4 separate regions of the Homo sapiens genome follow, and regions 2, 3 and 4 are each linked to region 1. Evidence: promoter capture Hi-C in 16 types of primary human blood cells and fetal thymus (Javierre and others, 2016). All regions are on one chromosome and are shown on one strand. Each heading gives the region's core, a stretch centred on a gene start or on the middle of the fragment in contact. The rest is flanking DNA. Distances are from core to core; before and after follow the strand shown.

The links. The method cuts DNA at HindIII sites, captures the fragments that hold promoters and counts their contacts. A CHiCAGO score of 5 or more calls a contact.
Region 2: a fragment that was not itself captured here is called in contact with the fragment with the promoter of ASTE1 in region 1 in 3 of 17 cell types (total B cells, naive B cells and total CD4 T cells); the score reaches 6.9 in total B cells.
Region 3: a contact is called between a fragment that was not itself captured here and the fragment with the promoter of ASTE1 in region 1, in 1 of 17 cell types (naive B cells). The highest score is 5.6, in naive B cells.
Region 4: a fragment that was not itself captured here is called in contact with the fragment with the promoter of ASTE1 in region 1 in 1 of 17 cell types (activated CD4 T cells); the score reaches 5.3 in activated CD4 T cells.

What each region holds. Positions count from the first base shown.
Region 1 is chr3:131,023,806-131,030,867 of GRCh38, reverse strand. ASTE1 (asteroid structure-specific endonuclease 1) reads left to right here and starts at 4,043. Exons shown (of 6, transcript NM_014065.4): 1 at 4,043-4,361; 2 at 5,274-5,394; 3 at 5,537-6,863. The coding sequence starts at 5,562. NEK11 (NIMA related kinase 11) reads right to left here and starts at 3,991. Exons shown (of 18, transcript NM_024800.5): 1 at 3,862-3,991; 2 at 2,866-2,938; 3 at 990-1,255. The coding sequence starts at 1,159. RefSeq lists enhancers at 3,682-3,871, 3,952-4,011, 4,152-4,391. The HindIII fragment of the contact is 10,416 bases long and covers 1-4,106 here.
Region 2 is chr3:132,208,430-132,215,491 of GRCh38, reverse strand. No RefSeq gene overlaps it. Among named protein-coding and RNA genes, the nearest start is that of TRC-GCA6-1, 17 kb to the left of the region's middle. The HindIII fragment of the contact is 1,718 bases long and covers 3,555-5,272 here.
Region 3 is chr3:132,190,138-132,197,199 of GRCh38, reverse strand. No RefSeq gene overlaps it. Among named protein-coding and RNA genes, the nearest start is that of TRC-GCA6-1, 36 kb to the left of the region's middle. The HindIII fragment of the contact is 4,312 bases long and covers 2,165-6,476 here.
Region 4 is chr3:132,169,511-132,176,572 of GRCh38, reverse strand. It overlaps the pseudogene PSMC2P1. Among named protein-coding and RNA genes, the nearest start is that of TRC-GCA6-1, 56 kb to the left of the region's middle. The HindIII fragment of the contact is 2,484 bases long and covers 1,363-3,846 here.

The DNA.
Region 1 (7,062 bases), core at 2,794-5,293:
ACTTTCCACTGCAGCAAATTAAAAAAACTTTACACAAAAACTAGAGGTTTATCTGTAAGGGAGGTACTGTCTGAAGCTATTAAGAGTTTTTCTCTACTATGAAAGTGTAGAGGGTCCGATCATAATCAAAAGAGACGAGGTGACAAGGGGGTCATTAACATAAGCTAATTTTAAATAGGAGTGTCCATTTGGTTTAAGTGTTTAATCTGACAGCTTTCTGACTACGGAATTTGAAAATCCTCGCCATGGAAAGCCCAAAGAAAATTAATACTGTTACTTTCTTTGGTATACCCTATTCATCTCAAATGTGAATAATTGTTTATTTGCATTTTGTAACATTTCTAAAAATAGTCATTATGAACAATTCTTATTTTCTCATTCAAGAAGTTCCAATCAAGTTAAGTGGAAGTAATATTGTCACTGAGACTGTGGCATGCCCAAACATCTTATTTTCACATAATCTATCCCATTTCTAGCTCCCTTCTTTAGGTCATTTGGATACTTTATTCACCTGCTGAAATGCCTTTAAACCTAATATGAAAGATTAATTAGGGAGCTTACCTATATTTATGAAATACTTGCTTTGGTATAAAGAGCAAAGTGGACATTACTCCATGTTCTTTTTTTTTTTTTGTCAGTCTTGCTCTGTTGCCCAGGCTGGAGGGCAGTGGCATGATCTCGGCTCACTGCAACCTCCACCTCCTGGGTTTAAGCAATTCTTGTGCCTCAACCTCCAAGTAGCTGAGATCACAGGCATGTACCACCCTGCCTGGCTAATTTTTGTATTTTTAGTAGAGACAGGGTTTTGCCATGTTGGCCAGGCTGGTCTTGAACTCCTCGCCTCAAGTGATCTGCCAACCTTGGCCACCCACAGTGCTGGGATTACAGGCATGAGCCACCATACCTGGCCTGCTCCATGTTCCTAATCAGCTAAGACCTGCAAACAAAAAGCAGCCTACTCAAGATTCATAGGAAGCATTTTTACTTACAATTCCTCTCCTCGTTTGGCTTTCTTGTCTGAAACCAGATAGACAGTTCCAAAACTTCCACTGCCAAGTTTTTGTTGAAGCACGTATCTTCTTGCAATCAAGGTCTTTGGATAAGTGGAAATGGCTGTTGATCCACTCACACACTTAGCTGCCTCTTGGAATTTCAGCATTGCTCCAAACAAGAGAGAACTGGTTCATTCATTTATAGAAACTTAACATTCCAGTCTCCTAAGAAATGGTCAAATTCATCCAGTGTTGGTCAGTTCCTTAAAGATGAAAAGTTAAAAGATCAGGTCTAAAGGTTGCTAAACGATGTCTAACAAAAAGTGTTAAGTGCAGTGATATCTGCACCTTGATCAGCAGACTGACACCATATTGGTTAACAACTTGAAAAAAAATGTTAAAAGGTAGAGATACCACAAATTCCAGAAGGCAATCTTTCACAGGAAGAGCCTCCCTTTGTACATTGAAATTTGGCAGAAGTGAATTATAGCCAACTTTCCACAAATTTCTGGGATGTACATCTGTTTTACAATGAGCAATCTCTTCATTTATTTAAGATTTATACTCCCCAACTACTTATAAAAGAATCCAAATACAAGAACATTATCACCTCCTTAAATCTATACATCTGCATCAACCTTTTTGTAATGCCCTCTTCTCACCTTATATTTACTTTGGTTTACAAAGAGTGAGTTAGGATTAAACAAGGAATTAGCAGGTGCTGTTTCCTTTAGATTTATTTTTTTCTGTAGATGTTAAACCACAGTTTTTGTATTTATTAGGACAGATGCAAAGAAGGATAAGGATTGAGAATTTTTTCCCATGCTCAGCAAATTCTAGTTTCTGAAGTTCCTATTGTACACATTGTGTATAATCTCTCTGGATTAAAAACAGGAAGAGTTACAAATTCAATTCAAACCTAAAATCCCATTTAATGTCAGTGGAATATAAATGCTACAGATAAATCTGTAATTCCTCAGGGAGCTATGAGACGTGGCAGTTATGAAAGGCAGGACTGTTTAGGCCGGGCGCAGTGGCTCACGCCTGTAGTACCAGCACTTTGGGAGGCCAAGGCGGGCGGATCACGAGGTCAGGAGATCGAGACCATCCTGGCTAACACGGTGAAACCCCGTCTAATACAAAAAAATTAGCCGGGCATTGTAGCGGGCGCCTGCAGTCCCAGCTACTCGGGAGGCTGAGGCAGGAGAATAGCGTGAACCCAGGAGGCGGAGCTTGCAGTGAGATCTCGCCACTGCACTCCAGCCTGGGCGACAGAGTAAGACTCCATCTCAACAAAAACAAAAACAAAAACAAAAACAAAAAAAAGAAAGGCAGGACTGTTTCATATGAGTAGGTACAAAGTAAAATCACTTTTATTTCATCAGAATGTTAAATGTTTTGTTAGTTATCAAGAAAAGTGTGCTTTTGTTTTAAATCTATATAGAAATAACATTTTAAATTGAAAACTGCCTACACCTTGAAGTTAGGTTTTCATATTCAACAATTCCAAAGCTATGAGACAAAAACCTAGTTTTTAAGGATGGTCAATGGGCTTTACGTGGTGGTGTCCGTCAACCACAAAAACTACTAGGGCAATTAACCACAAAAATCCTCAAAACAGAACATAAGTAAATGCCCATTTACAACATTTTCCTTCTTAAAATGTATGAATCAGTTAAGTTGTACCTAATACCAGTGAGATTAGTTACCAGCTTTTTCTTTTCCCTTCCAAAGACACGTTAGTAAAATCTGCTGGAAAAACAACTACAGAGCAGGCCTCTAAATATACCTTTTGTTTTTACTTCCCCTTCACTGTCATAAAAGTGATGCCGTCTGGCCATACTAAGCTGTTCAAATAAATATATGGACTTACAGACTTTCCAGCTGAAAAGGGTCCTTCAGGTCACTCAGTAATTCTCCTTATTTTAAAGATGAGATTAAGGTTCCTTTTAGAGAAGGACAGAATTAGGGACGGACAGAATGAGAAGTTCACTTCTAGCGGCTCTTATTTTAAAGGACAGTCTAAACCCAGCAGTGCTTAAGTAGTCTGGTCCAGGCTGCAGAAGACTCTGGGACTAGGTTCCCTCCCGCCCACCCTCACAGACTCAGCCCTGCCACCCCCATCCCAGTCCACTTTTAGGTCATCCATTCCATTAGTCTCCTCTGCGCAACCATAAACCTACCCAAGAATGTGTCGCATTGTCTAGATTCTAGAACTATCTGTTCACTTGACAACACGCTCCCCCTCGAGGTTTGAGTGAACTTGGGCACTGCGAACACATCTTCTTTATTTCTGCATCCCCAATCCCTGGCATACCTCCTGGCATATACTAGGTGTTTAACAAACCTTGTTAAGGCAAGTAAGTGTCCAGCAGATCAACTGCCGCCCAAAGGAGAGAAAAAAGGTTAGTTAAGAAAGCTAGATGGGAACTTGGAGAAAGTTACTACCTTGTGCAAACTACCCGTTCTCGGTGAAACAGATCTGGCTGGGGGCAAAAGACAACGGAAGGAGTATTTATCACAAGTTGAAAACCAGTAGTTATCTTCCCAGGTAATAAGAGGAAGGCAATTTGTCACCAGTTTCTGCTACAGCACAAATCTACCTTTAAAGTAAATCTTAACCTTAAGGTAAAACGAACAATTCCTTGCTTCTTCACCTTTTTAAACATTTACATTTTGGCAAAGCAGGTTAACGTTTATTGAGGGGCACTGAGACTGGAGTACATCCGGAGGTAAGATGTCCAGGAAAGCGAGGAGATCGCAGCCATGGCGTCCTAGAGATTCGGAACCCAGCCCGGGCAGCTTGAAACCATTACCTTCCCCCTCGCAGGGGAGCCTGGCTAGCCCCAAGGAGGACAGTTCGCTTTACCTTTCCCTGTCGTGGTCGGAGCGGCGCCCGGGGCTGCCCAAGTCTTGCGGGTAATCGGGCAGGCCTCAAACTAGGGGCAACCACACCCACCGAGCGCCAGACACCGCGGGCCACGGCTGTTTGGAACCGTGGCCAGGGAGACGGCGCGGGGCATACTGGGAAGTCGGGGCGAGGCGGCACCAAGGCGGAAGTGTTCGCCGACCCAAGTAGGCGGAGAAAGCAGAGGAGGACCGGCGGGCCAAGCTTTCCTAGCCTGACAGCAGCCATTTCGGAACGTACGTCCCAGCCCTCTTTAGCTACTTAGCGCCTCTGGGCCCGAGAACACCTGCTCCTTGGCTCAGTCTGGCGCCACCGGCATCACGGAACTGTACTTCCCAGAGACGTCACACCGGGAGACTTCCGATTCCCGCTCTTGAGATTGGACTCTCACGTGCAGGAGCCAGTCCTCGCTGGGCTCTAGCGGGCTTCTGATGGAGGAGCTACTCCTCTGGGAGGACAGAGTAGGTGGGCTCTGCTGCAGGTCCGGGCGGCGGGTTGTGAGGGCCGAGGTGGCACGGTGTATGAAGGCCTGTGTTTGAAGACTTAGGTCAGACCTTTTGCCCGCCTTTCCCCTATGCAGCTCTATGCAACTGTCTGTGCAAGGTCCTGTAATTTGCGTAGGACGCCTTGACACAGTCTCTGCTTATGGACGCTTTACAAAACTATCTTGCAAAGAAATAAGTACTATACAGGATAAGGTTCTGAGATACTGACAGGGCTGGAACTAGGGTGAGATAAGTGTAAAATGTAAATGGATGCCAATAAAATTCAGTAATCAAGGTAAGTTTTAATGCAATCTCTAAAAATCAAAATTATAGCAAAAAAAATCCATGACTGACAAAATGTCACGATTTTAAGTAATAGTAACAGTACCGTGCTGTGCCATATTGAAGCCCGAGGTGTCAAAAGAAAAACCATCAATTCTGATCCTGCGAGTTAAGTTAGCCAGGTGAGGAAGCGTAGCTGGGCCAGATATGCAAAATAAGATGATGAAAAGAGCTCGTGGTTAGGGGTGTAACTGGATAGAGGGGTTCCTAGAGGCATGAAGCAGTTTTCCTTATACCAAAAACTATGCCAATTAAGAAGGGCCCACAAATCCAAAGCCTGAAAGAAGTTCCGTGACTGATTGTCAATACAAAAGAAAAACTTGATCCTTATCATAGGTCCTACACACCTTACTTTACTGAAGCCCAAATGCTTTGTGATTATGAGATGAATATGATATCTTTTTTTTAGCTTAGGACTTTTTACTTTGACCCCACAAAACAAATACTCTGTGCTGTAAGATGTTGACTATTACCACTTAAGAATCAAAGTTCACAGAACTTCTATACTGGTGTGTCAGTAATGGACTTCAACTGATTTTTCTTTAGAATTAGCAGCAGCCTCTGTCACCATCCAAAGATTACAACCCATGAAACCATTGAATTTGTGCCTTGTATCAGAAAGCAAAGGAGAATGAAAAAGCACAGCTAACATTGCTTGAGGATCTAGGTAAGAATTTATGATGTTGATATCTATGTTCTATCTAAAGAGCACTTCATAACATTTGCTATTGATTTAATGGTGCTGGAAGCAATGACTTGGTGCCCCATAACTAGCATCAATTGAAAATGTTTTCTGTTGTTTTAAACAGGCGATTAATTCTTTAGACTGTCATCATGGGTATCCGAGGACTAATGAGTTTTGTGGAAGATCATAGTAATGAGTTCTTCACTGATTTGAAGTTGCGGGACACAAAAATTGTCATTGATGGTTATGCTCTTTTCCACCGTCTTTGCTTCAGTTCAAACTTGGATCTCCGGTATGGAGGGGACTATGATTCTTTTGCAGATGTTGTACAAAAATTCTTTGAATCACTGTTTGCTTGTAATATATGCCCATATGTTGTATTAGATGGAGGATGTGACATTTCAGATAAAAAGCTTACAACTTTAAAGGATAGAGCTAGAGAGAAGATCCAGATGGCCCATTCCCTTTCTGTTGGTGGGAGTGGGTACGTATGTCCCTTACTCATCCGGGAAGTATTCATACAGGTTTTGATCAAGCTGCGGGTGTGTTTTGTCCAGTGCTTTTCAGAAGCAGATCGGGACATTATGACACTTGCTAACCATTGGAATTGCCCTGTGTTATCATCAGATAGTGACTTTTGCATTTTTGACCTGAAAACTGGGTTTTGCCCATTGAATAGCTTTCAGTGGAGAAATATGAACACTATTAAGGGCACACAAAACTATATCCCTGCCAAATGCTTTTCCCTTGATGCATTCTGCCATCACTTCAGCAATATGAATAAAGCTCTACTACCTCTCTTTGCGGTGCTATGTGGAAATGACCATGTTAATCTACCCATCATGGAGACATTCTTAAGTAAAGCGCGTCTTCCTCTTGGAGCTACCAGTTCTAAAGGGAGGAGACACCACCGAATCCTGGGACTTCTGAATTGGTTGTCTCATTTTGCCAACCCTACCGAAGCACTAGATAATGTTCTGAAATACCTCCCAAAAAAGGATCGAGAAAATGTTAAGGAACTTCTCTGCTGTTCCATGGAAGAATACCAACAGTCCCAGGTGAAGCTACAGGACTTCTTCCAGTGTGGTACTTATGTCTGTCCAGATGCCTTGAATCTTGGTTTACCAGAATGGGTATTAGTGGCTTTAGCTAAAGGCCAGCTATCTCCTTTCATCAGTGATGCTTTGGTCCTAAGACGGACCATTCTTCCCACACAGGTGGAAAACATGCAGCAACCAAATGCCCACAGAATATCTCAGCCCATCAGGCAAATCATCTATGGGCTTCTTTTAAATGCCTCACCACATCTGGACAAGACATCCTGGAATGCATTGCCTCCTCAGCCTCTAGCTTTCAGTGAAGTGGAAAGGATTAATAAAAATATCAGAACCTCAATCATTGATGCAGTAGAACTGGCCAAGGATCATTCTGACTTAAGCAGATTGACTGAGGTAAGTATTTGTAATACTAATGAAATTTTTGTAAAGTACTTTACAGGATACAAAGTGCTGTCTTCTATATTAGTTCACTTACTATAACAAACTGATGAGGTTGAGTGCTATCTTGCCCTCATGTCGTAGCTAAGAAATCTAGAACTTGAGTGAACTAGGTAATGTCTTAGCCAGAAAGTGTCAGTGCTAGGACTCAAAC
Region 2 (7,062 bases), core at 3,164-5,663, 1.2 Mb before region 1:
TATAATATATACCTGGTATATATTATATCTGTATTATATAATATATACCAGGTATATATTATATCTGTATTATATAATATATACAAGGAATATATTATATCTGTATTATATAATATATACCAGGTATATATTATATCTGTATTATATAATATATACCAGCTATATATTATATCTGTATTATATAATATATACCAGGTATATATTATATCTGTATTATATATACATTTTCTGTACAATAGATATTATGTAAATATGCCTGAGGAGGTCACTTTTCCTTCGTGTTGTTTTATTAGTGGCAAATATGTTATATATAAAATAATTATATATAATTAGTTAAAATATATAAATATATGACATATTTTTATATATTTTATGTATATATATATTTATTATAGAAAGTGAGACAGGGTCTCACTTTATTGCCAAGGCTGGAGTTCAGTGGTGTGATCTTGGTTCACTGAAGCCTCCACCTCCCTGGTTCAAGTGATTCTTCCGCCTCAGCCTCCAGAGTAGCTGGGACTACAGGTGCACACCACCATGCCCAGCTGATTTTTGTATTTATAGTAGAGATGGGGTTTCACCATGTTGGCCAGGGTGTTCTCAAACTCCTGACCTCAAGTGATCTGCCCACCTTGGCCTCCCAAAGTGCTGGAATTATAGGCGTGAGCCACTACGCCTGGCCACAAAACTTTTTATTATGAAAAAATTTCAAATGCACGCAAATATGGAAAGAATTGTAATAAATGTTTATTACCCTGCTTGAACATTTGCCAACATTTTGTTTATCTTATCTGATATATTCTCTCTACTACCTTTATTTTGCAGGAGTATTTTAATGAAAATCCCAAATTTTGTGTCACTCTTAGATACTATGTTTCCTTAAATTTTATATTTCCTTTTCTGTTCTAAAGTATATTGTCTTAGTCTCTTTGGGATGTTATAATAAAATACCTTACAAACTTATAAACAATGGAAAATTATTGCTCAGAGTTCTGAAGGCTGGGAAGTTTAAGATCAAGGCGCCAGCAGATTTGGTGATGGCCCTTTCTTCTAGATGGTGTCTTCTATCTGAGTCCTCACAGGTGGAAGGGGCAAACAAGTTCCCCCACGCCTCTTTCATAATGGCATTAATCCTACTGATTAGGGCTCTACCCTAAAGACCCAGTCACCTCCCAAAGGCCCTACCTCTTAATACCACCACTCAGGGGATTAGATTTTAATATATGAAATTGGGGGAACACAAACATTCAACCATAACATCTATCTCTTCTGTTGCCAAGCTTTCACTTTTCACCTCTATTTCCCTTCATAAACTAATAAATATAAAAGTATTCTCTCCCCTCACAAGATAATATCTCTTGCCTTTTTCCTCTCGGAGTGTTCCTGCGGTTTGTGATCTCTCTTAGCTCTGGTAGCCTGTTCAGGCCTTAAGGTATCTGTTCGGTATTATGTGGTCAAGTAGCTGGGACCACAGGATCACAACACCACGTCTGGCTAATTTTTTTTTTTTTTTTTTTTTTTTTTTGTAGAGATGGGGTTTCGCTATGTTGGCCAGGCTGGTCTCAAACTCCTGGCCTCAAGCAATCTTCCAGCCTTGGCCTCCCAAAGTGCTGGGATTACAGGTGTGAGCCACCACGTCTGGCTTGGAGGGCTTATTAAAACACCGATTCTTAGCCTCACCCCCAGAGTTTCTGGTTAGTAGGTCTTGGCAGGGCTGGAGAATTTGTATTTCCACACCTTCCTTGGTGATGTGTTGTTGGTAGTTCAGGGAGTACATGTGAGAGGAACCGTTTAGATAGTAAAAACTGCAAACCTGAAGAAGAATAGAAGAATCCTTATTCTGTGCTCTCTTAGATTTAGTTTCCTCATCTATGATCAATAACTATTCATTTCTTCCTCATTTCCAATAACGATTTGCTGCTTTTAAGAGCAAGAGATCACTTTTCCTTCATGTTGTTTTGCTAGTGGCAAATCAGAAATGGTTTCGCCAGTATTCACTGATCTTGTAATCACTCTCGGAATCCAGCTGCATCTCTAGTGTAGAGTTTTGGGTCAACAAGAATAATGCTGAGCTTAAAGAATTGGACTCAGTCTCTTGAAGTCAGGGGTTGATGAGAAGGTGGCTCTAATCTATTCATTCAACAACTTCCTATTGAGCACCTGCTATGTGCCAGGTGCTGTTCTAGCCACTAAGATAGAGCAGGTAATAACATAGGGCCATTGTCCTTATGGAATTTGTATTTTAGTGGGGTGAATAAAAAAGGGCAGTCTAGGTGGGGCCCAGAAATAGAAAAATAGAAAAAATATAGTGACGAGTCAAAGTTAAATAATAACCTGTATTTTTCTCTCATAATTCTGGAGTCCAAAAACCTCATGTCATTTCCACTAGGCTAAAGGCAAGGTGTTGGCAAGACCACACTCTCTCTGGAGACTCTGGGGGAGAATTCTTTTTGTCTTTTCCAGCTTCTAGAGCTTAATTTCTTAGCTCGTGGCCCCTTCCTCCATCTTTAAAGCCCGCAGCATAGTATTTTCAAATCTCTCTTTCTGCTTTCATCACATTGCCTTCTCTTTCTCCTATTGTGCCAATAAGAGAAGATAGTTCGGGGCTGTGAAGACTGTAGACACAAGGTGGAAGATGATCCAGGAAGGAGGATGGGAATAATATTGGAAAACAGTGATCATAATCTGCTACTGGTGTCACATGAAGTTGTGTGGTCATATAGCAAAAAGGATAAACATTTATGAGAAGTTTTTCACTTGCTAGGAGTTTTACAGCCATTCCTTCTTTAAATTTCACAATAACCCTTTGAAGGATATACTGTTTTACACATTAAAAAAACCTAAGGCTCAAGGTACAACTTGCCCCAGATTGGATGGTCAATAAGTGGTAACATCAGGATTACAAGGTAAGCAGCCTGCCTTTACAGCAGAAACCTAAAGAAAGCTTTGCTACTCTAAATATGTTCTGTGGACTAGCAGCCCTAGGGTCACCCAGGAACTTGTTGAAATTGCAGTCTCAACCTCCACCCTAGACTTGCCGAATCAGAATTTGTATTTTAACAAGAGCCCTATTGATCCAAATACACCTTAAAGTTTGAGAAATATTGCTAACCAAGCACTATATTTGAAATGCAGTGAAACTACATTTTCAGCTGCTGTGAAGCTGGCTGAAATATCTTCTTTTTTGGTCTTTACTCCAACAATATTAGGAGGCCTAGTCTGATAAGTCATTTGGCTAAGCAAATAACAATTAAGAAAACCATGAACCTCCCCAATTTCATGTCTCTGGGTCTAACAAAGGACACCACAGTGTATTCTAAACAGCAGTTACTTGTCTGCTGAGAGCTAAAATATTTGCTGACTCAGTTATTTCTCTCATCTCTGTGTGTGGCAAGTTCTAGTGTGATAAATTATGGAGGAGAGAGTTATTACAACACTCTCTCTTACATCAGATGATAGTGTTAGGCATATTTTGGGCACTGCAATCATTGCACAGCAGGTAGAGAATCTTTCATAATTATTGTGCTTATAAAATATGCTTATTTATAGAAGCTTGTTTTTACCCCAGGTCCTTGTTAGGCTGTTACTCCATTGCTAAACCTCAGAGTGTGTAGTTTTGGCTGAATCAAGAAATAGAATAATAGAACAGAAGATGGCTGGTAGACTAATGTTTATTATGGACCACTTGCATTAGAATTACCTGGTGCTGGTTAAAAATGTAGATCTTGGTCGGGTGCGGTGGCTCACGCCTGTAATCCCAGCACTTTGGGAGGCTGAGGTGGGTGGATCACGAGGTCAGGAGTTCAAGACCAGCCTGGCCAACGTGGTGAACCCTCATCTCTAATAAAAATGCAAAAATTAGCCAAGCATGATGATGCGTTTCTGGAATCCCAGCTACTCAGTGAGGCTGAGGCAGGAGAATCGCTTGAACCTGGGAAACAGAGGTTGCAGTGCACTCAGATTGTGTCATTGCACTCCAGCCTGGGCCACATAGTGTGACTCTTTCCCCCATCCCCACATAAAAAAACATGTAGAACTCTGGGTCCCACCTGGAAAATTAGTTTCTAGGGGTAACACCTAGGAATTTTAACTTATAACATGCTTATCAGACAACTCTCATATAAACTAATCTTTGAGAATTATCATTGTATACCATCAGACCTAACCTTTGTTATTATATGGATTAGGAATCAGAAAAAGAGAGTAGTATAATGACTTTCAGTGCCTCACTTAGAGTTACATTTCCCATTTCCTTTTATTATATACATGGATATGTATATATCAGTCTGGTATAGATAGCTGGCTTTTTAGGAGAAACTTTTAGATCTACTAGTATCTAATAAAGGCAGGGCTAGCTGCTTGTGAGTCGCTGAATGTGGGATAGGCAAGTGGGTGCTAAAGAAACAGTAGTTAAACTTAAAACATCTCCTCTCATGTGATAATAAGCAACCATTTGTCACCTGAAATAACAAATCCACAGGATTTAACTAGAGTTAAGACAGCTGGCTGAGTTCCTTGAGCGATATGACATCGTGCCACAAATTGCCAGGAGGGGACAGCAGAGAGCTGCCAAATGGCCGTAGATGCCAGGTGAACCAAGGTTATCAGTAAGGAGGACGTTAGAATAGCAGCCAGGTGAACCAAGGTTATCAATAAGGAGGAGGTTAGAATAGCAGCCAGGTGAACCAAGGTTATCAATAAGGAGGAGGTTAGAACAGCAGCCAAGAGCTGGCTACCCTAGGTGTGTCTGCTGGGGACACACCTAATTTGGGCAGGCTGAAACTTAGCCTTAAATGAGGAGAGCTGAGCCTGAAGCAGAGGCAGTTACCTACCCCCATGAGAAAAGGCAATGTCTGGGCCAGTGAGTGGAAGAGAGAAGCTGAAGTCAGGAATGCAAGCTGGCAAGTTAGGAGCGGGGGTAAGCGGTGAGTGTGTCGGAATGGGATAGCTAATGGGCTGCCAGGGAGTACCAGCTTCTTCAGAGGTAGTTATCCTGATTCGCAGTATTCTGAGGGGTAATTGTCCTGGTAAGATCAGGAAACAGTCGGGCTTCTGACAAAGAACCACAAATTAAAACCATAACCATATTATTTAAAAACCTGGAACCCAATCCCTTATTTGAAAAACCCTTTGGTAGTGAGATTTTCAAATTATTTTCAGAAAATGCCTTAGTATTAAAAACAAACAAGACAGTATATGATTAAATACTGCAATTATAGTGTAATCAATACTTGCTCAAAAAGTTTCAGTAAAAGGGGAGACCAATGAAGCTTTGAGTGGCCAAGGAGGACTTCTTTAAGGAAGTGGAATGTGATGATCCTTAATGGATGAGTATGACTTAGGCATGGAGGATATTCAGTGAGGCAAGGGAGAAAAGCTCAGTCTGTTTGCAGGCTTGTGAGGAGGTCACTCATCTGTTTCCAGAGTGCCTTGAGTATGCTGTGGGCTGGGGCATAAAGACATTAGTTTGACCTTTGATAAACTTGGTTTTGTTTGGATGGTTTCCAACAAGTTCTGAAGCAACAGAGTCCAGCTTCTTTAAACAACAGCAGTGTATCATTTACTTGAGGAAGTAAGTATTGATGCCACTTGCATCTGACATAGGTAGCTTCCAATTAGATAGTTTGCTAGGGAAGATATAGTGCCTGATTCCTTCCAGCTGGGGCACCATAATCTTGCCTCTGAATAGATAGAATGTAGTCAGTTCCTGTCTGGATATATAAAAGATGATAAAAGGTTTTTCTGAGAATGCTGTAATGAGAACCAAGTACAGTTAACTATGCAGTTATACAATGAAGGACACAAGTGATACATCTTCTACCCACTAATGGGCTGGTGATTATCACTGTAATTGTGGTCTAGAAATTAGTTATGACTCAGTGGGTAGACTTTCTTTGTATATCCCATCTCTCTAAATAATAGATCATGTTTGGCCTTTGCTTATGCATTTGTCTAGAATATGTCCTTTTCAATTTTTTTAAATTAAGAAATTTATTTTATTTTTATTATACTTTTAAGTTCTGGGATACATGTGCAGAACATGCAGGTTTGTTACATAGGTATACATGTGCCATGGTGGTTTGCTGCATCCATCAACCTGTCATCTACATCAGGTATTTCTCCTAGTGCTATCCCTTACCTACCCCACAACCCCGTGACAGGCCCTGGTGTGTGATGTTCCCCTCCCTGTATCCATGTGTTCTCATTGTTCAACTCCCACTTTTCAATTTTTTATAAAAGTTGTCATGCCCTTCCAATATAACTCTTTAAAGCAGCAGTCCCCAACCTTTAAGGCACCAGGGACCAGTTTTGTAGAATACAGTTTTTCCATGGAAGGTAGGGGTGGGGATGGTTTCGGAGGCAGTAGATTCTCATAAGGAGTGTACAACCTAGATCCCTCGCATGTGCAGTTCAAAACAGGGTTTGTGCTCCTGTCAGAATCTAGGGCTGCTGCTGATCTGACAGGAGCTCAGGCATGGATGCTCCCTCACTCACCACTCACCTCCTGCTGTGCTGCCTGGCTCGTAACAGGCCATGAAATGTTACTGTACCTTTAAAACAGGGTGCCCCTGTTTTAAAGCACTACCTCGTATTCAGGTTGGTGACACAGCAGCTCTTGTTTCTCCAGTGTAGAATGTTTCTCAACGTTATTATTATTACTGTTATTTTTGGTCTGAGCAATTTGAAAGACTAACCTCTTTTCCATTTGTAGCAGTGGCTCTCTGTGGTAGTGATTCTTACAGAAATGGAGATAGGGTTGGGGTGAAGTAGGAAAGGACATATTACCCATCCCCAAGGGGCACATCACAGAGATTCTGAAAAATCCTCTTCTCTTCTTGAGGTGCTTTTAGCTAAGGAGCATTGCTATAACTTCAGGATTCAGGATACTGTGTTGTATGTATGTATATAGTCATAGATGTCTTGCAGTAATTTGTGTGTCTCTTTCTGCTGTTGGTTTGGGAAGGATGTTTTAAAGGCTTTTGGTGAATCCCTTTGGTGGGTTCAATCACTTCCCATTTGAGATCTAACATGAAGGCACATTCCTTATTGGGCAGTAACAAG
Region 3 (7,062 bases), core at 3,071-5,570, 1.2 Mb before region 1:
TATGCAAGTCCCTCACTATGATCATGTTCAAGCCTTTAGACTTACTAGAATGAAAGGATTCTTTCAAATGAGGTTCCTGGAAAACTTTCATAAGTACACTCTCTTAAAAGCAGGTCACAGAGGACAGTGTCAAATACTGTAGTGATGTTGAATAAGAGGAAATGGAGATGGGGCCATTGAACATTGGACTTAGGAGGCCATTAGTGACCTTAGGGTGAGCAGTTCTTATCCAGTGGTATGGACAGAAGTCAGAAAGCAGGAGCATGAAGAGGAGCTGAGGAAGGAGTGGGAGAATTGTGCTGAGTTCAGACAGATGTTCAAGATAAATGTGGGCAGGTAGATGGTGGGAACCAAGGTAGGGGGCAAAACTAGGCCAAACAAATAGAAATTGAGCACAAGGAATGGTGGGTTAAAGCTGGAGTTGAGGTTATTTGCAGAGATGCAGAGCAACACCCAGAGGCTGGTGTTTGCAGTTGCCCAAGTGGGCAGACCAAGCCTTGTTATAGGGGGTGGGGCTGCACAGACAGTTCTGGTGTGGAATCTTGTCCCTGAGAAGCCAAACACTTTGTTTCTCTGGCATCATTGTGCCTGACATTTGCCACCAGAATAGGCTATGGGATATGTCTCTCTATGGAGCTTTTTCTACACGATAAGCCACACTGAAATTTAGAGGTTGAAAACTACCACCATTGGTTTAACTCACAATTGTATGGGTTAGTTGGGTAGCACTGGGCTCATGTTGGATCTGTGGTCAGCTGTGGGTCAGGTAGGAAGCTCTACTTCTGGAGCTAGTCTGGCTGCTGGTTGAGGCTATAGGGGTGACTGGGCCATGTGTCTCTCATTAGCCAGCAGGCTAGCCTGGGCTTGTTCATGTTGATATAGTGGCTGGACAGGGTTCCAAGAAAAGGAATGCAAGGTCTCTTCAGGCGTAGGCTTGGAACTGGCACAATGTCATTTCTGCCACATTCTCTTGGCCAAAATAAGTCATGAGGCCAGGTCAGACTCAAGGGATTAGAAAATAGACTTTTGATGGGAAAAATTTCAAAATCACATTACAAGCAGGTCTGGAGGCAGGGAAGTGAATAATTGGGGCCACTTTTGCAAACAGTCTACCCAATTGCCCTCTGCTTCTATGAGCCGGCAGAGCCCATCAAATTGGAATGTAAGTCACACTTTATAGTTTGCACAGAAAATCAACTCCTCTTCTCAAGGGGCATATCTGTCCAGGCACCTGCTGAGTGAATTGGTGGCAGCTCAGTGATTACATCCCCATTGCTTGGTCTTAGGCCTGGAGAGCAGGCTTCTTGGTCCTGATTACCTTGAACATACTCTGTAGTCCTTTGCATTTGAAATGCTTTTGGTAATTGCTTGCTACCCAAGGGAACCAGTTCTGGGAGGAATGTATAACAGTAGCAGAAATGAACAATACAAAAGAGGCAATCAAGCCCTATGACTTCTGGGAACATCCAACACAAAATGTCATCTCAACTCTACTCCCTGATCTCTTTCTGAGGAGATGACCAACAGTCCCACAAAACTGAAGTAATTAAGTAGTTAACTCTCTAGGTGATGGCCTTGGCAGACCTTCATATATAAAGAATTTTGCCTTTCTCCTTCATTGTCACTGTGCTGATGGGAGCTGCCTTTAGGATTTCTTTGTAGTTGAACAAAGCTGGTGATGGCCCCAGTGTACTTAGTGAACCCCTTTTATGGGATGGTGCTTGAATGCCAGATATGTTGCTCCCTCTTCACAGGGCATGCGGCCACCATTAACATTCCTCTTACACCTTTTGTGGGAATTACAAACTAATTACAGAATGTGTAATTAAGTGCTTCATCTTTCAAATGCTGAAAAAATAAACTGAGCATTCCTCCTTTTGAGCTTGATTTTAGTATTGGTGATTAGCAACATGATTCACTCTGAAATGGGAGGGGTGTGCTTTCAAGTATACCTTTTGCTTTTTCAAGTATAATAAAAATATTGGAAGCTCAGGACAGGTTTGTTTTCCCTTCCCTAGAAGTAGAGTTGAAAGGAAACCCCTTTCTTCTTATCCTTTGTGAATGATCATTTTATTCTTATTGGACTAGTGACCAAGGTCGTCATGGTCCATGAAGCATAAGACAACTACTAACACTCATGTAGCATTTTACACTTAGTGAAGCTTGTTTATACCCATGTCTCATTTCATACTCACAATAAGCCTGTAAAGAAGGTATTTTTATTCCCACTTTACACTTGAGAATTCTGAAGCTCAAGGACTTTGTATGATTCAGTCCTGCTGCTAGAAAAAGGATGAATGGGGTCTTTAGCCAAGTCAATATGATTTTGGAATTCCATGTGCTTCCTCCTCCAATGTAGAAGAGGGAGGAGTCAGCCAGGTAAATCCTGTTTGGGGCATGCCTTGAGGTACTCCATTTCATCCCTAGAATTCTTCTGTGTTTGATACAACCAAGTGCTTCTCTTTGTGATATGTGGTCATTGTCATTGTTCCACGGACAAAAGTAGAGTTATGGCAGCACGAAATAGACAGGCAAACTTACCCATTAAAGGATGTTGATGTAACATTGTCTGAATGCTGGGATTTGATCATGAAGTCAGACCTTATTATGATTTCCCCTTAAAATGACATGAAAAGTATAGAGCAAGCCTCTCTGGACATGAGGCTGTATCAAAGTAATCATGCATTTTAACCCTGTGAACAGCTACATTACCCTCCCCACAGTTCTTCCATTTTATTATCTTGTCTCTGTTTTTTTTTTTTTGTCTCTACTAGATTGTACAGTTGGCACATGTTTACATCCCAAAACAGGCAGTATGTGTATATTTAATAAAGGAATCAATGGACATTTCTCCTTTCTTGGTTTTGGAGAATGAGGTCTAGGAGATCTTTGTTGGAATTTTCAGAAACTGCCAATGATCTTTTCTGTAGTAGATGTTCCACATACCACACCCATATCCCACTGGACACCCATCCAACTGATAGCACTTGCATTTCTTTGCCTGAGGGCCTTATCTAGTCACTAGAGTCTGCTTTGCCCTGCACTGGGCAAGATAGAAGTGCTAGAGAGTTGACATCCCCTGAGAGAAGTCCTTGCCAATGAATGATGGGAGCTGGTCGGTATGTACTCCAGCTCCCTCACCCCTCTGGGAGGTTAACTTTGAGGCACATGGCCTCCAAAGTTTTTTCGGTGAGACTGAGCCCCAGTTACCTACCGTGGTAGCTGGGTTGTTAATGTACCCTTAAAATGCTGTCTTCGTTTTCTCTCTCACTCCACTTCTCTCCTATTGGTATTTTCTTTATCTCACGAATAACTACTTGCATTCAGTTCCACTTGCAGCAGGTTCAGGGTTTGCTTCGGAGGGAATGCAAACTAAGAAACCTTTGTACTGGAGCATTAGAGACACTTCCCTTTGCCAAGTCAGTAAGTGTTTGCTGAATGCCAATTCTTTGTGAAGTTCCATGTGTGGAGAGCAGGGTTTCTCAACTGAGTTCTCCAAACTGGGAGCTGATCATAATCCTGAAAGATCCTGAAAATACAATTCTGGAAAAATAACAAACAACACTACTGTTTTTCTTTTTTCTTTATATTAATTTTTTGTAGAGACAAGGTCTTGCTATGTTGCCCAGGCTGGTCTCAAACTCTTGGTCTCAACTGATCCTTCCTCCTCAGCCTCTCAACGTGCTGAGATTACAAGTGTGAGTCACCACACTTGGCCACTAAAGGACATTGTTTAAAAGATATTTATTTGTTTTGAAAAGATTTATTTGAGAAATATATAAAAACGTGACAGAACACTTCATAGGCCACTTTACACAGCAAAATACACAATAACATATTTTTGCAAGCATAAAACAGGTATGGTAAAGAGTCATGCAGGTATAACAATTACAAGCAGACAAACTATATTTATAAAGAAATAGGTCAAAAATGGAAATGTAACAAACTATAGAAATGATCCCTGAAAGTATAGTAGTAGGGTGGGGGGAGGGAGAGGGATAGCATTAGGAGATATACCTAATGTGAATGACGAGTAAATGGGTGCAGCACACCAACATGGCACATGTATACATATGTAACAAACCTGCACGTTGTGCACACGTATCCTAGAACTTAAAGTATAATAAAAATATATATATATAAAATGGAAATGTACAAATGTATATTACTGTGGTTGGTAATTGTGTGACCAGCTTTATAACATCTGTCATCTGAAACACCGTGACAAATAACCTAAGTCTTTTGATATTTGGTCAAAACCTGCCATGGGTCACCACTGCATATGCAGTCTCTCAAATAATCGAGATCTTGAGAGAGTTTATCTTTCACAAATGCAGATGTACAAAATGGACATCTCTTAATTTACTGAGGAAGTTTCAATGTTGTTATATACATGCACAATGCTTACACACAACGTCAACATTTTGATAATACACTTTACATAGAGTCAACTCTGCAAAAAATACATAAAATGAATTGGAACTCTCTAAAAGTCTCTAAGCAATTTATATCTCCAATATTGAAAATGATGCAAATATGAGATATGTAGCATAGCAAATTGTAAAACATAATGCTGACAATTTAAAATAGTGGAAAAAAACTAAAAAAGGAAAAAATAACCCCAGAAAACCCCCCAAGAAATGAAAAAGAAAATTTGACATATGGAAAAGTATATGGAAATAGTTTATGGGCAATTGCATGGAGATAGTCCCTAAGAGCTGACTGATTTTCACCATCATTGACTATATTTTGAAGTCTTCCACAGTGAGGCATGGCTGCATTTTTTCTTTTAGGGCACGACCCACCTTGGAGAATATGCTCACTCTGGTGCTGCTCTTTTTAAAATTCTTCTATGATTTGCTGTACCCCAACATGAGCATTTTCTATTAAAATTTCTCATCTTCTGTGCCATCTTCCATGTTGCTTTGAACATGTGGAAATTCATTTCCCATGCACTCATATACAGACCAAAAATTTGGGAGAAACAATATTGGCGATGGAACAGCAACACTGTTGCATGTCTTCTTATTCTTCTGTGCATATAATTATTTTTGAACCAGTCTGTAACTTCATTAGGCTTCTTCAGGCAAATATGGCTTTAACTCATAAAAGCTCAAGGAATTTCGTCAGCTGGAAGGAATACCAATGCAGACACATGATGCATTTTTAAACTGAAGTTTTCATCTTTGCCGTATCACATGGCCAATTCACTCATTTGAATTTTCTGTCAAATGCATTGGGCTGAATGGAAAAAAACAATTATTATTGGTAACAGCTTGAATTCACTTTCAGAAGCCTTGACTGTATATAATTCTAAATCGGTCATTGTGCTTTGAGATTCAATTAGACATTAGGAATTTTAGACTGTAGGGATTTAGACTTTAGGGATTTTGGTCTTTTGGGATTTCAACATTCAGATTATGGCGTTCAGGATTGCGTCTTTTGGGATCATTATCCACACCCCATGGAGAAGTACCAGGGTGAATCAGGAGGCAGAGTGTGTCAGGGGAAAGCATGGGTGACAGTGTTTATTGTGGTTTTCATGGGAAGGAATGGGTGAGACAGGGTCATGAGGATCATTTTAGGATTAGCTGTTTGAATAATTTTAGCAAGCTCTGGAACACAGGGACTGCTCCTACTTGGCTGATAACTGGCCCTGTGATAACTAGGGTAGGCAAGTAGTATAGTGTATACTAGACTATTCTAGACTAAAATAGTATAGACTGTGGTAGCCTAAAAGGGGGAGAACTGGTTGGTTTGCATATCGAGGGCATGCTCTCAGAAAGTTTGATATCTTTAAGAATTAGCTAACTCTGGGAGGGGCAGTCCCTCCCAGATCCACACGATGTCAAAGCCTCATAAAAATAGAGAAAATAAAAAAACATGATTAATATAATCCGCTTTTTTGGTTCCCAGCCCCACACCTTCAGTCCCTGGTTTACAACTCATCCCTTGCATCCTGGCTAGCTAAGTTACCACTTCTGTTTGGCTTTGGAATCCCATGTGTGAATTACCCCTTTGGAGAATCCTGATGAGATGAATGCCAAGACCGTGGATCTATTCCTATCTCTTGGCCTGTGCCTCAGAGGATTAGACCCTGTACAGCTGAAGATGTTCTCTTTTTAATACCTCCCTGGATTAAGAAATGCTTTGGCCACCGAAGAAACATAGAGGGCTAGACTCGACTCCATCATGCCTCTTATTGCATATAAGTTAATCAATAGCCATTGATTAGCTATAGAACATTGATTTCTATAGAACATGGGCCATCTGGTCCTGCATCAGCTCCCAGCCAGGATCTGTCTGGCAGTACCAGGTCAAGGGATGGGTGCCACAGAGGCTACAGTGAGATGTGGAAGCACATGGCTAGATCCAGCCATTTCTCGGGAAAATTACCCATCTTTAAGAGGCTCTTGACCCCAATAAACAGGACACAGCAGTGGCTATGTCTGGCTTTGTGGTCTGAACCAAAAGCTTATTGGATTAAATTAATTCATAGGAAGGGCTTATAATAGTGCCTGGCATGTAATAAGCCCTCAACAATTATTAACCATTATAATTAATCACTTTTACAGTGCCTGATTCTTAATGAAGACTCAATAAATGATGCCTTACCACTACTACCAACTCATGCTACCCTGCACATACCATAGAATTTAAATGAATTCAAGTGAGAAAGTGATCCTGTAGGCTTTTGGTAATCTGCAAGGCACCAAAACAGTACAAGGGGAAAAATTCCTGGTAATAACTGCATTCATGATTTTCGAAGAAAATGAGAAAAAAATAGTAGATATGTATAAAAGCATTTTGAATATCTGACTCCTGTAAAGGGTTATAAATTGCTTAGCAGGGTTAAAAAATACATTCTCTTTGGGGAAACCTTACATTAGACATGCTGTGAAATTAAGACTTTTAGTGACATAAGAAAAACTTAAAAGTAGCTATAGAACATAGGTTTATTACATGTTGATAGACGTTCTAGAATGTACATTTTGAGACAATTCACAGTAATTATTCCTTATGTTTTCTTATTCATTATCTTAGAATTAAGAGACTATTTTT
Region 4 (7,062 bases), core at 1,355-3,854, 1.1 Mb before region 1:
AGCTTCTGTGCAGACACTTCTAATCTCAGCAGCAGTGCCATTTGGACACAGTCGTGCTAACAATTCAAATCTGATATATCTTTCAACACTCATTGAATGAGCGTGAATCTTAAAGATGTGGGTCCGACCCTCTAGATCAGGCAAGCTAAATTCAATTTTTCTGTCTAATCTGCCTGGCCTCATCAGTGCTGGATCCAAATTATCAGGTCAGTTAGTGGCCATCAGCACTTTAATATTGCCTCGAGGATCAAAACCATCAAGCTGATTGATCAGTTCCAACATCGTTCTCTGCACTTCATTGTCACCTCTAGCACCATCATCAAACCAAGCCCCTCCAATAGCATCAATTTCATCAAAGAAGATAAGGCAGGCTTTTTTTGTTCTGGTCATTTCAAAGAGCTCATGAACCATTTGAGCCCTCTCACTGACATATTTCTGTACAGCTCAGATCCAATAACTCGAATGAAGCACGCATCAGTCTGATTAGCAACTGCCCACACACAGAGTGTCTTCCTGTACTGGGTGGATTAAAGAGCAGCATGCCCTTGGGAGGCTCAATGCCAAGATTCACAAACCTCTCTGGATGAAGTAATGGGGTTTCAACTACTTCTCGCAATTTCTCAATCTGCTCCTTACAGTCACCAACATCACTGTATGTGACAGGTTTTTCCTCCACCTGCATCATGGTAACTGTTGGGTGAGTCTTAGGAGGCAATGGAATGTGAATTTGATATTTATTTCTGTCCACACCTACTCTCATCCCTTCTTCAATGTCAGTGGGTGCCACCTGATCACTAAAGTCCATCACAAACTTGGCAAACTGCTTTACATTGACAATGTATTTTGGGTCCTCTGAATCAGCACTGATTATCTTTGTACACCTGGCAACCTGTAAAGGTTGTTTACTCTGGAGTGTCTGCTTATCTGCAGCCAAATCCCAGAGTGCTGGTGGAGCCAGGCCAGTGTCAGATTCTTTAATACCAGTGAGCTCATTAATTTTCTTGAGAAGTTGCTGAACGCCATCTTCGACTTGCTTGATCTGCCTAAAGTAAGTGCTGTGACCATAAGTTTTCAGCAAGGCAATATCCGCCTCATCCAGAACTTGGATGGGCTTGTCATCCTTCTCATCATCTTTGGTCTTCCGCTGATGGGCACCAAGGTAATCTGGCATTTTAGCAGTTCCAAATGCCTCTGCTCCTTACTGATTACATAGCACCTTCCTTTCTTCTGGTGGTGTCTGAAGACTGTTCTTTTTTAAAAATTATTTTTTTCTTTATTTTTGTCTGACCAGATTAGTTCAAAAGAATAGTCTTCAAGCTCTGACAGTCTTTCTTCTGCTTGGGCTAGTCTATTGATAAAGCTTTCAGTTGTATTTTAAAATTCCTTAGGTGATTCCAGAAGCTCTGATTGATTTCTTTTTAAGATGTTTATCTCTTTCTTCATTTCCTGGATTTCTGTAGAAGTTTCTTTGTGTTGATTTTCAACTTTGTCTTGGCTTTTGTTGAGCATCCTTGCTCCATGGTTTGAATTATTTATTATTTCTGAATTTCCATTTTGGTCAGGGAACATTGCTGAACAGCTAATGTGATCCTTTGGTGGTGTCACAATGTTCAGATTTTTCACGGTGCCAGAATCCTTACACTGGTTCCTTCTCATCTGGAGAGTTTGGTGCTACTAATTTTTGTATTTATTTTCATGCTGGTAGAATTTTTTTTTCTTTCCCTATATATATTTCCATTTCTCCCCTTTCCTAGAGGATGGGACTGTAGAGTGTGTTGGGTAACATCTTTTGGCTTTGCTTCTATAACCCTATGCATTTTTGTGGGCAGTTTTATATTGGGCTGTGTGATTCAACTTACAGGCCAGTAGACGGTGCTGACAGGTATGAGCCAGTTGCTGCACAAACAGATGGGTATGTACATGGTCTGTTTGCTGTGAGGTGCTCTCTGTTGTTTTACATGATGGGCTGGACAGTAGAGTGCTTGGTGCCCTGTGCTTCTTGCTCTGTGGGGGTGGAGAAACAAAGCTAGGCAGAGTTGGAGCCTTTGGCTTGCCCACAAATACCCCCATGGTGAGTGCGGGCACCAGCCCTGTCAAGGGTGGCTGGGAGGAGTCCCTGGTGAAATGCACTGAGATCTCTGGGGCGGGGCAAGGAGATGAGGGATCTGCACTGGCTCCCCATCTTTGATAGGTAGGAACATGGTCTATTTTCCTATCATGCCCCTGTTCCAGGGCTGATGACTCCTCATTCAGACACACACTGTAGTCTGTGTCTAGACCAATGTGTCTGAGAGCCTCAGAAAATGCCTCTTTTGTGATTCTCCATTAAAGTGGTTTGGGGCAACTTCATCACTCAGCCTGATACAAATAGCTTTATGGCAGGGCTGTTCTCTGATATGATAGCACTGCTTCTTTGTGTAAAGGCGGGGGCTATGCCTTTGGGCTTGTGTGAGAAGTGGTCAGGTGCCAGCAGAATTTGAATGGGATAGGTAGTTCCTCAGTTTCCAGGCCCCTAGATGGTCCGCTGGACTGCATGTATGAGTCCTGAAGGGTCTGGAGCCAGATCAGGCTAGCCCAGGATTCAGGTGCTGACTGCGATAGAGAGGGGCAGGCTGGCCCCTGGGTCACTGGATGAACTCTCAGGCAGGGGCAGGCAGAATGCTTGGGTGGTAAGAACCTGAGGGAAGACCTGTGGGGGTAGGGATTTCAGGACTCTAGACTGCAGCTGAAATGCTCATGTGGAGGCAGGGTGCTTGCACTGGGTACCAGAAGTGGCAAGCAAAGGCAGGGAGTTGTGGGGTGTGCAGTCTGCCCAGTTCTTCATATCTGGGCAGCGGTGTCCTTGTTGGAGATGTGTGAAAGCATTCAGCCTCTTTGTTTCCACCTCAACCTGAGGGCAACAGGGGCGAGGGCAGAGGGTTTTTCAGTTATATCTCTTGGAGTTCCATCCCACAGGACCCCAGAGCTGCAACTTTCTACAGTATCCAAGCAGGGGCAGCTGTGCTGGGAGCCTCAACTGGTGGTCCCTGCCTGGTGAGGAGCAGCAGAGGTGGGGTCTGCAGTTGGTCTGCTCCTCAGTACTGTGGCTGTAGCAGCTATCCTAGGGGCTTGCAAAAGAGCCTGTCTTGCCTGTCTTCCCTTGTTGGCAGCACATTGACAGCTGGTGTCAGACTGCTCTGGGATCCAGTGCTTGTGGTGCTCCATGTGGGCTTGAGAGATATCTCTGCATGGACTCCAGATGGTTCTTCTTGTTGGTCTGCAGGCCCGGATGGGTCGGGGGAGTTCTCCTGTGCCCAGGATTGCAAAGGGTTTGTGGGGACATTGTGGATCCCCAGTGGCTGTAATCATTCACTTTGTTCTTCTTTGTTCTCTGTGGGTCCCATTGCTTCTTTAGTGAATCGCAATGTGTTCTCTTAGAATATCCACTTGAAGAGCCAGTGTTTACTCACATTTGTTTCTTCTCTGTGGGAGCAGCTAGCAGGCATCTTCATATATATATATATATATATAATATGATCTCGTTCTGTCACCAGGCTCGAGGGCAAAGGCCTGATCATAGCTCACTTCTATCTCCAACTCTTGGGCTCAATCAATCCTCCCATCTCAGCCTGCTGAGTTGCTGGGAGTACAGGCATGTACCACCATGCCTCAGCCTCCCAGATCATTTTGATTATAGGCATGACCCACTGCACCTGGGTCCTAATGAGTGTGATATAAAGATTAAATGATGTAATGTATGCACAATTTTTGACTTGAAGTAGGCTGTCAATGTTAGTTTTCTTTCTTCTTTCAAAATAATTAACAAAATGAATCTTTAAAACAATAGTCCCAGGAGAATCTGAAGCTTTAAGCTCTTTGTTTTGATTCAGCTCCAGTGTTCCAGAGGCTTTCCTTGTGTACATGAGATAGTTTGGGGGACTTTCTGTTTGGTGTTATGCTGGTGCTCTTTTGTCCTATGCTATTTTCATGGCTGTCAATTGACCAAGGGTCTATAAACACAGTACTCTCACAGTAATCTCACGAAAATCAGGTGCAGAATTGGAGTGGGCTTCTACAAGTTATTGGTATCTGACGCTACTGGTCATTAAAATGATTCTTGTCACTTGAGGAATGATACAGAACAACCACCAACCCCATCTCCTTTCACTCAAAGAGGAGCACAAAAGGTATCACCCATAATTAGTGTGTTTTGTTGTTCATGTTCCCAAGTCAACCCTAGAGATGGAGCCAAGGTTATCACATCCACATGGAACATTCTTTTTCACCTCTAGTCAGGAGATAGCAGGAGGAAGTTTGTGTTTCTCTCTTTTTCTGCAACTATGCTACAATTTGACACTGAAAATACTCAGGCTCGAGGTTTAATTTGAATATCTATGGTATAAAATTACCAGTGTTCACACCCCCTAGCATTTTCCTGACAAATTAATTGCCAATACAATTTTCAGCAGTGGGTATGTGTGGAGCGAGGCAGGGTTGAGAGTTCAGCTTATGGGAGGTAATTATAGGTGCCCTTGGCTGGGAAAGAGCACAGATGATGCTAAAGGAGCCAATGTTTTGGGTAAGCAGCACCTGCTCCTTTGCCAGCTCTGTAGACCCATGGATCTGGGAAACATATATAATTTGGAGGATTTAGGGTCTACCTTTGGTCACATAATTTAATCTCTTAATCATCGTGTGTTCTGTGGTTGCCGTGAGCTCTCTGAAACTGAACTGTGTGTCTCCATTACTTGGTTCTTAGATCTTTTCTCCATTTATTCAATACTCCAAGCCTTCAAAGCATCAGGATAAAGAAGGCAAACAGCAAAACTCTCAAAGGCAGAGAGTAAATAAAGCTATAAAGAGATTCTTCATTTTGGCTAGGTCTAAGGGAAGGGGCACTTTTGTTGATATATCTGAAAGTAAGTGGTCTCCTCTGAAAGAGGTGGAAAAACATTCTGTTGAGATGAAGCACCTGACCTTTTAAGAAATAATCTCTGCTTATTTCTAAGTATTCATTGGAAAACGATTTATCTCAAATATACACCTTTAGACAAGATGCATTAGTTCCTTTTTCAACCTAAGCCTCTCAGGAGTTGTAATCCTCTAGCATCTGAAGATATTTGCTGTTGGGGTTATTTTAATTTTTATTTTATTTAATTGTAAAAACAATAATAAAAACCAAGCAGACAAACAAAAACCTTAAAAAACCCTAAACTGGGGTGAGGGAGGATTGGAGGAGTAGATGGTTGAAGACCAGAACAGATATAAAGCCATAAACATCCTCCTTAAACTTTTTCAAGTTTTAAAAATACTAGCAATTTTATAGATTTGTTTTCATCTCAAAGATATTTTTGAAAATAAAGGGTTATAACATTATTATGTGACAAAGTAAAATAACAGAGAAGTGCACATTTGATTCCATTAAGTCTTGTTCTCAAGTTTTTCCTGTGATGTCAGTTGCTTTTAAAAATATGAAAGATCCAGTGAGAATAAGATAATATTTCTGGCACTCTAGTCCCTGCAATAATGGGATTGGAGAGAAAGGAATGAGGATATTTGCTGGCCAAGGTTAATATACAAGGGTTTCATCCTGTCTTCTTCATGAATTTGAATCTCATCACCCAAATATCTCAGCTACAAGGATTCTGCTATGTTTTCTGGAAAACAAGTCCACTTTCAGAACTCTCACCAAGTTAATCACAGTCAGAAGATGCCAAGGTTGGGCAGGACCATCTACTCCAACTCTTTCATTTAACAGATGAACTAAGGTCCATAGATGGACAAGGGACTTACCAAAGATTGTCCAGCAGGTTAGTTTAGAATAAGGGCTAGAATCTAGGTTTTCTTTAAAGCAGCAATAAGCAAGTGCTATAGGAATAATCAGTTGCTTCACATGGATGTGGGCCCTGAATTCCTAATTTGGAAATCAGTTGTGCTCTACAAAATTCACAGATTCGTGATGCTATTTGATACAAATGTCATCGTGTTGACAGTCAGGTGGACCTTGGAAAGAAGAGAAAAAGAGAATAAACATTTATGGAGCATCTACTATTGCAAGAAACTTCCACTTTACTATTGCATGTGATTTTCACATCTCCCTGATGAAGTGGATATTATTTCTATTTTTAAATGAGAAAATAAAGGCTCAGAGAAGTTGAACAATTTGCCAAAGACCTTGTAGATGGTAATGTAGAATTTGAACCCAGAAATATGATTCAAAGCCCATCTAAAGTCTTTCCATTCACTCACCACTTTTTGCTTCACCCCATTACATCATTATTTTTGCTACTCTTTCCAATACTAGGCAAACCACAAAGCAGGATCTAGATCATTAGCCTTATCATTGAATGCAGGCATTTATGGTGCATTTATCAAGTACTTAGTTTTGTAGTGGGTGTGTGGAAATGCCAAAGGGTAATGAGACCTTTGTGTAACTGAGAAGGGCTTTCTAGGTGTAAAGGCATCAGATAAGTGTGGCCTTCTATTTCAACTCGCAGGAAATTCATTTTCCCATGGTGTGCAAGGCCCTATGTCCTTGCTACTCAAAGTGAGCTCTATGAACTAGCAGTGTCAGCATCACCTGGTAGCTTTTTAGAAATGTAGAATCTCAGCATCCCACCCCCATTAGATTCTGCATTTTAACAAGATTTCCAGGTGATTTTTATTCACAATCAGGTTTGAGATGCACAGCCCACCTCCTCTCTGACCTTATTGCCCAGGTATAGTAGCCTTCTTTTTGCCCCTAAACATGCTTACCTGGCTCCTGCCTTATGGCCTTGGCATTTGCTGTTCCATTTGGCTGACCGCTTTATCTTCTAATTTTTTTATGACTCTATTTTGTTCTTCAGCTTTCTGCTCAAGCAATATTGTCTCAGAATGTCTGAGTGCTGACTTCCAGGGAACTGCGTTATCTTGTTATATTTTCTCATAGTATTTATTCTCTGAAATTATACCATTTATTTATTCGTTTACATGTTTATTATCTCTTTCCTCACTAGACTGTTAAACTCCATTAATGCAGGAATGATTTGCCTGTCTATTCATTGTTTTATTCCCAGCACCTGGAACACTGCCTGGCCCAAG